2 separate regions of the Homo sapiens genome follow, and region 2 is linked to region 1. Evidence: promoter capture Hi-C in human tissues and cell types (Jung and others, 2019). All regions are on one chromosome and are shown on one strand. The core of a region is centred on a gene start or on the middle of the fragment in contact, and the rest is flanking DNA. Distances in the headings are between cores, read along the strand shown.

Evidence for each region. Contacts are between HindIII fragments. The study calls those that stand out against the background at their distance.
Region 2: a fragment that was not itself captured here is called in contact with the fragment with the promoter of PDS5A in region 1 in 1 of the 25 tissues and cell types used here (dorsolateral prefrontal cortex).

Annotation. Positions count from the first base shown.
Region 1 is chr4:39,976,104-39,979,791 of GRCh38, forward strand. PDS5A (PDS5 cohesin associated factor A) reads right to left here and starts at 1,808. Exons shown (of 33, transcript NM_001100399.2): 1 at 1,354-1,808; 2 at 337-514. The coding sequence starts at 474. RefSeq lists an enhancer at 147-1,055 and silencers at 593-1,342, 1,393-2,032. The HindIII fragment of the contact is 8,894 bases long and covers 1-3,688 here.
Region 2 is chr4:39,412,031-39,415,718 of GRCh38, forward strand. All of the region lies in intron 1 of KLB (klotho beta), which reads left to right. Among named protein-coding and RNA genes, the nearest start is that of MIR5591, 2.0 kb to the left of the region's middle. The HindIII fragment of the contact is 4,557 bases long and covers 1-3,688 here.

The sequences.
Region 1 (3,688 bases), core at 558-3,057:
TAAACTTCTTAGGCAAATTACTGCCTACACCTAAGTTTGCAAGCCACTCTGAACAGTATTCTCATTAAATACCTCCAGAAAAAACTCTAAAAACACAAATTCTTATGCTTGAAAACCAGTAAGTTTTTGAAAAATCACACTCCTTTTAAATTTCCCACAATGGTTATATCCCTACAAAACTCACTCAAAGATGTTATCTGAGATACAACAGTACCTTTCAGAGGGGGTAAGAGATCTAAAAAACTTGGAACTTTAAAGGCCAGACTGAGCAGGGTAGCAGTATCACAGGAGAAAGCGCCTTCTACCAAAGACATCAAAATCCGTCCAGACACTTACCTTCAGGCGTTTGATCATCTCGTCCGTGGTGATCTTGTCGGTGATCTCTTTTACCCCCGGAGGGTAAGCGATCTTCCCGTCGGCACTCACGACGCCACAGAGGGCAGTGGCAGGCTTGGGCTGCGCGGTGAAGTCCATCCTGGGGGACAACTTTTGGTTCACAGTCCTCTACCGGCCTCTATCGGTCAGAAAACCAAAGTTCAGCGGGAAAGGGGCGACTTTGTAACCTCTTTTTTCATTTCAAATCTCTCTAATCTGGAAAAGGCCCTGTCTCCCCAGAGGCCGGGGACCCGGCAGCGGCCTCGCCACCCGCTCTTTCCCAGGGATCGAACCCCGCCGGCCCCGCCAACCCGGCCCTGCCAGCCCCAGGCTCACGGGGCTCCTCCGCACCAGCCGCCGTGGCCGCCGAACAGCGCCAGGAGTTTCCCATTCCGCCTTTCACAATGAAATCCACCCCCGAGCACCAGGGTCCGAAGTTTGGCGGCCCCGGGAGGCCGGCAAGGACCCCAAGGCCCCCGCTCGGCGGTGGGGAAGCACCCAGTCCCGCCCGGCCAGTCCCCTCCGGGAAACCAGACCCGAGGCCTATAGGGCTCGGCTTAGGCCGCAAAACTAGGGACCCAGCGGACCCACGCGCAGCGGCGGCTGCCGGGAACAAAACGCCCTTGCCCAGCCGAGCCTCGGACCCGGGGTAGTCCCCGCCGCGCTGCCACCCCTCCCCTGTTCCGCTCCCTCACCCCCGCGGGAGGGGAAAACAAGCCGCCCTCCACCCTCAGCCCCACGCCAGGAAGCGGCTGACGCGCCTCCGCACTTCACATTTTGTTCCTTCAACTTCGGCTGAGGGACCCCAGCTGCTTCTCTGGCCCCCGGCCGCTTGGCGCCTCCGGCACCGCCGAGGCCTTCCCGGCACCCTCGGGCGGCCCCACCGGGCCTCGGACCCGCGGCCCCCCCCTCCAGTCTCCCCTTCCGTCCCCTCCCTCCAGCAGCCTAGGGCGGGAGCCGAGCCGCCGCCGCCTTTACCTCCTCCTCATGCGGGCGGAAGGTGCATCGAGCGCCCGGGCCTCTGTCAGGTGGTTGCGCCGCCGCCCCTAGTCGGGCTGCACACAAAGCGGCTCCGCGGGTCCCGCCGCCGCCGCCGCCGCCGCCCGCCCGCCCGGGAGCGGCGCTGGGGCTGGCGGTGCCGAGGAGGAGCAGCCGCCGCGGGGGGAGACGCGGGGCGAGTGAGCGCTGGGCGGGGAGACAGTGCCGCTCTCCGTCTGGCCGAGGAAGAGCAGCCTCGAAGGCTCCTCCGGGAGTGTGTGCGCTTGTGTCCGTCCGGGACCCCCGCGGCCCGCCCGCACGCACCTCGCGCCGGCCCGGACCGCCGACTCGGACCCGGACGCCCCTCGCAGAGGCGCGCGCCCGGCCGTCCGTGCCCCGGGAGCCGGGGCCTCGCGCACACACCGGCCGGTCACGCGAGCGGCGCGAGAGCACGCGAGAGCAGCGCGCGCTCCTCGCTCCCTCCCCTTCCTCCGCCGGCCGTGCATCCGCCTCCCTCGGGCCCGAGGCGGCCGCGCGCAGGGCGGACAGCGCCGCCACCCGGTTGGCGCCAATACCTGCCGCGCGGGGCGCCTCCCGGAGGACCCGACCGGAGAGGGCGAGAGGAGGAGGAGCCCGGGTGGCGGGAAGCGAGCCCAGGTTCCCGCGGCCTTGCGAGGGCACGCAGGGCAAACAGTGCTTTATCTTTCGCAGCGGCGATGAGCTGGTGACTTTTGGGGGTCATCCTGAGGGACATAGACGAAACTGGTTGGGAGGTAGTTAATTGCTCGGTGAAAATGAACTGATTTCCTCCTCAGGGAGAGATCTGCAAAGTCAAGGAAAGTTGTGCAATGGGGCGCAGCGTGAGCGGCTCACTCTCGGGTCTTCTGACAGCCACCCGAGTTGCCCACCCTCCTTAGATTTCTGAAGTTAATATTTTGAAAGCTGCAAAACATGAAAATAGCATTGGGTCGAGTCGTTCTCAAGGTATGGTCTTTGGGCCACCAGGCCTCACAATCACTTTGGGTACTGGCTGAAAACGTAGGTTTCCAACTCCAAAGATTAAAAAACATAAAAATATATGTTTTTTTAACGTAAAAATATATATGAACATAAAACATATAAAAATATAACATATAAAATAAAACACTAAAAAATATAAAAATATACATAAACATAAAAATCTCTGAGAGTGGAACCCAGAAATAAGCATTTATTAATTGGGTGGGTGATTCTTGTAAATAAGGAAGAGCTCATTTTTTAAAAATGTTTTAAACCTACCAAGCATTAACGTTTTCTGTCATCCAAAGGAAAACCACTATCAGGTAAAAACAGTGCACGCAGCAGTGTTTGAGCAATTTAATGTATGTAATTGAAACAAATTAACGCAAGAACATACACTTACCTATTTAAAAAAAATCAAGAGCATACACAAAATTTCCGAAGAGAAAGTTGAAAAAAGGATACGATAATATGAAATCACATTCAGCTCTTGAAACTGACCACTACCATAGTTTAAAATGATATTCGATTGTTTATTCAAATTATTCTTGATGGGTACCCATTGGTCTATTTTTTTCCCACATCCTTTAACGTCAACTTAAAAATAGTAAAGGTACTGCATTTCAGCTCACTGACTTGTTTTTGACGTATTACACAAGAGCAGTCATTGCGAATCTGACACTCCACAGTTGCTGATTTGCTAGAACTCTGCCCAAAAGTCAATGCTTTGTTCTTGGGCATTTACAGTACCAGGCAGAATCCATTTAAAAGTGTCCTCATCCAAACTATTAAGTGGACCAAAAGCTGCTCTCTTTTTAGGCTCTCCCTGTCACTTTTGATATTTATTTTTTTCTTTTGAGACGGAATCTTACTCTGTCACCCAGGCTGGAGTGCAGTGGCGTGATATCGGCTCACTGCAAGCTCTGCCTCCCGGGTTCACGCCATTCTCCTGCCTCAGTCTTCCGAGTAGCTGGGACTACAGGCGCCCGCCACCACGCCCGGCTAATTTTTTTTTTTTGTATTTTTAGTAGAGACGGGGTTTCACCATGTTAGCCAGGATGGTCTCGATCTCCTGAGCTAGTGATCCGCCCGCCTCGGCCTCCCAGAGTGCTGGGATTACAGGCATGAGCCACCGCGCCCGGCCAAATTTGATATTTCTTTGTGTGTTACATTTAATTAAACAACAATGATTTTATCTTTCATCCTCCTCAGTAGCTTGCCCATTATTAAATGGAGTTTTGTATATGTACATATATTTTATTTTATTTATTTTTTATATTATTTTATTATTTTTTGAGATGAAGTCTCACTTTGTCGCCCAGACTGCAGTGCAGTG
Region 2 (3,688 bases), core at 321-2,820, 560 kb before region 1:
GAAGGATATAATCAACTTTGGAGACTCAGAACAGGGAAGCTGGGAGAGGAGTAAGGGATAAAAAAACTGCATATTGGATACAATGTATACTCCTCTGGTGATGAGTACACTAAAATCTCAGACTTCACCGTTATACAATTCATCCGTGTAACCAAAAACCACTTGTACCCCAAAACTATTGAAATTTTAAAAATATTTTTAAAAAGAGAAATATTATGAACATTTACATTCCAAAAGGACATAAATAAATAAATATTATCTATACTCTTTACAACAATCTTGCCAGGTAACTATTATCCTCATCTTACAGTGTGATATTTTGAATATGCGTGATATTGCTCCCCTGTGTAAAATCCATTAGTGGCCCCCCCAAGCTTTGGGGATAAAGTCTCAATTTTTCACCAAGACCTTTGAGATACAGTTCCCAGCCTCCTTCCTGGCCACTCTCCCATCCTCTTGCACTTCATATTCGATCATAACACACTACTGCCAGTGTCTCAGTCTCTCCTTACTATTTCTCTCCACCCAGCCTCAACTATCCCACTCTGTCTAGCTCAAATGCCCTCTTTACTTCGTGATGGTCACTGCCTCCAAGTCATTCTTGCCCCTTTAGGATTTAAGTGCCCCTTCTGCTGGCTCCCATAAGATGGGCTTGTTTCTAGCATAGCACTCATACGACATGATACTTTTCCATCTCCCCAGCTAGACTGAGAGTTCTTTCAAAGGAGAGACAATTTTTAAATTTGCCTTTATGTTCTCAGCACCTAGCACAGAATATTTGTACATATTAGGTGTAAATGTTGGTTAAATGAATGGTTTAGGATTTCTGTCTTAAATACTGTAATCAAAAACTAATCTCAAGTTCAATCTTCATATTTCATTGCATTATTGCAAACTGTCGAAATATTACTGATATTAATCGGGTGGTATATTAGTCAGGACTTTTTTGGTGGCAAGTTACAGAAATCTAATTCAAATTGGCTAAAGCAAAAAGGGGCAATTTCCTGGCTCAGTAACCAGACCACAGGGATGAATGGGCTCAGTGACCAGGAAGGCCCTTTATTTCAGCCTCTCACGTCCATTTCTTCCTCGGGTTGTGTCATCTTCTCCTTTGTAGAGGAAAGATTTCTCTCTCCCAAGTTTAGTTTTTTCAATCCCAGAAATGTATTTGGCCTATGCAGCAAAGCCCCAAGGGTTCACATTAGTAAAGGCAGTAATGTCTGTTTTCATTCTATTTTTAAATCAATAAATACATGTAATAATTTAAATTTGTACATTTCCCTTTTAGAATGGAACATTTGAGAGTCTCTGAGTAAACATGCACAGAGGTTTGGGAAGGTGAATTTGCTCATGAGACAATAACTCATTCTGTTTATTACTCCACTAAATATTGCCAAAGCGGGGCAGAGTTGCTCCTGCCTGTAATCCTAGCACTTTGGGAAACCGAGGGAAGAAGATCCCTTGAGCCCAGGAGTTCAAGACTAACCTGAGCAACATAGTTTTGTAGAGACAAGACAAACCTTGTCTCTACAAAAAATAAAAAATCAGCTGAGAGTGGTGGCACATACCTGTAGTCCCAGCTACTTGGGAGGATGAGGTGGGAAGATCACTTAAGCCCGGGAGGTCAAGGCTGCAAGGAGCTATGATTGTGCCACTGCACTCCAGCCTGGGTGACACAGCAAAAACCTGTCTCAGGAAAAAAAAAAAATAAATAAAATAAAATAAAATAAAACAAAAAATACTGCCAGCTTTCATGACAGTTTTGACCATTTCATGACTTTAAAAATCTTTGTCTTTTACTAGTCACATTGGGTTAGGGGGAAAATGTTATCTTTCATAGATAAATACTGTTTACATAGTACAAAGATTTCTCAAACCTGGTCACTATTGACATTTGGGGTCAGATAATTCTTTGCTGTGGTAGGCTGTCCTGTGCAATGGAGGAGTTCAGCAGCATCTAAACTCTACTCACTAGATGACAGTAGCTCCCCCATTTTCAGTGTTGTGACAATCAAAAATGTCTCCAGACCTTGCCAAATGTCCCCAGGAAGTCAAAATTCCTCCCCCTCACTCCACCTTTGAAAACCACTGACTTATTCTATAGTAGACAACTGGTTAAAGACATGAAGCACAAAGAACAAGGACATTGACATGTAACCAGTATGAGGGGCATAAAAATGATTATTTTACACAATTGCCTCAAGGAGATCTTCACCAGATCTGTAAGTTGCATACAGAAACTCAAAATTAATGTACAGCCTATACTGTTTTTAGAAAAAAAAAAAAAACAGTGCTTTTAAAATGTTAAAAGAGGAAATAATATTTAATCATCAACATGATTACATCTAGTTTGGCTTTTCACATATCGAGAATAAAGACTGTCCCTCCTGGCTTTGCCTTATTTGTGAAATACTTGAAAGAGCTGCCCCAAACCATTTTTCTTATATTAAGCATTAGTTATTTCTTAACCATTAATATTTTCTTATATTAACCATTCATGAACAAAACACTAATCTTACTTTTTAAAAAAGCTTTTCCTTTTTTAAAAAGCAAAATTCGGCCAGGTGTGGTGGCTCACACCTGTAATCCCAACACTTTGAGAGGCCAAGGTGGGCACATCACGAGGTCAGGAGTTCGAGACCAGCCTGGCCAACATGGTGAAACCCCATCTCTACTAAAAATACAAAAATTAGCCAGGCGCGATGGTGGGTGCCTGTAATCCCAGCTACTCGGGAGGCTGAGGCAGGAGAATTGCTTGAACCCGGGAGGCGGAGGTTGCAGTGAGCCAAGATCATGCCACTGCACTCTAGCCTGGGTAACAGAGCAAGACTCTGTCTCAGGAAAAAAAAAAAAAAAAAAAGCAAAATTCAACTATTCAAACAAAATGTTATATAAGCAACGTTTATCCATTTTTGATGCTATAACATTGTGTTTCACAAAGTTTGGTGGGGGTTGGGTTTTTTGGTTTGTTTTTTGAGAAGGAGTGATTCTCCTGCCTCAGCCTCCCAAGTAGCTGGGATTACAGGAATGTGCCACCACTCACGGCTAATTTTTGTATTTTTAGTAGAGACGGGGTTTCACCATGTTGGCCAGGCTGGTCTCGAACTCTGGGCCTTGGGTGATAGACCCGCCTCGGCCTCTCAAAGTGTTGAGATTACAGGCGTGAGCCACTGCGCCTGTCCAAAGTTTGGTTTTTTATGTGTCACTTTATGTTCTATTTTTCTGGTTTTCTGTTTGTATACATATCTATACATATCTAAGTATCATTATGTACTATTGTTTACTAAAATATTTTTCTGTTAGAAATATATTTTGAGGCCAGGTGAAGTGGCTCATGCCTGTATTCTCAACACTTTGGGAGGTCGACACAGGAGGGTTGCTTGAGCTCAGGAGTTCGAGGCTGCAGTGAGCTGTGATCATGCCTCTGCACTCCAGCTTGGGTGATAGAGGGAGACTGCATCTCTAAAAAAATAAAAAATAAATAAAATTTCAAAAATATTTAAGTCATAAAATGCTTGTCCTTATTACATAATGAAAATAATTTAAATAATGTGCATTATTTATTAGATGGTAAAATGCCCAAATTTATGTGCATGTGTTATTAGCATTTAAAATATTTATTCTATTAATGTTTTAAATTTAAATAGGCCTTAAAATACAATAGTCAATAAAGTATATTTACATAAAA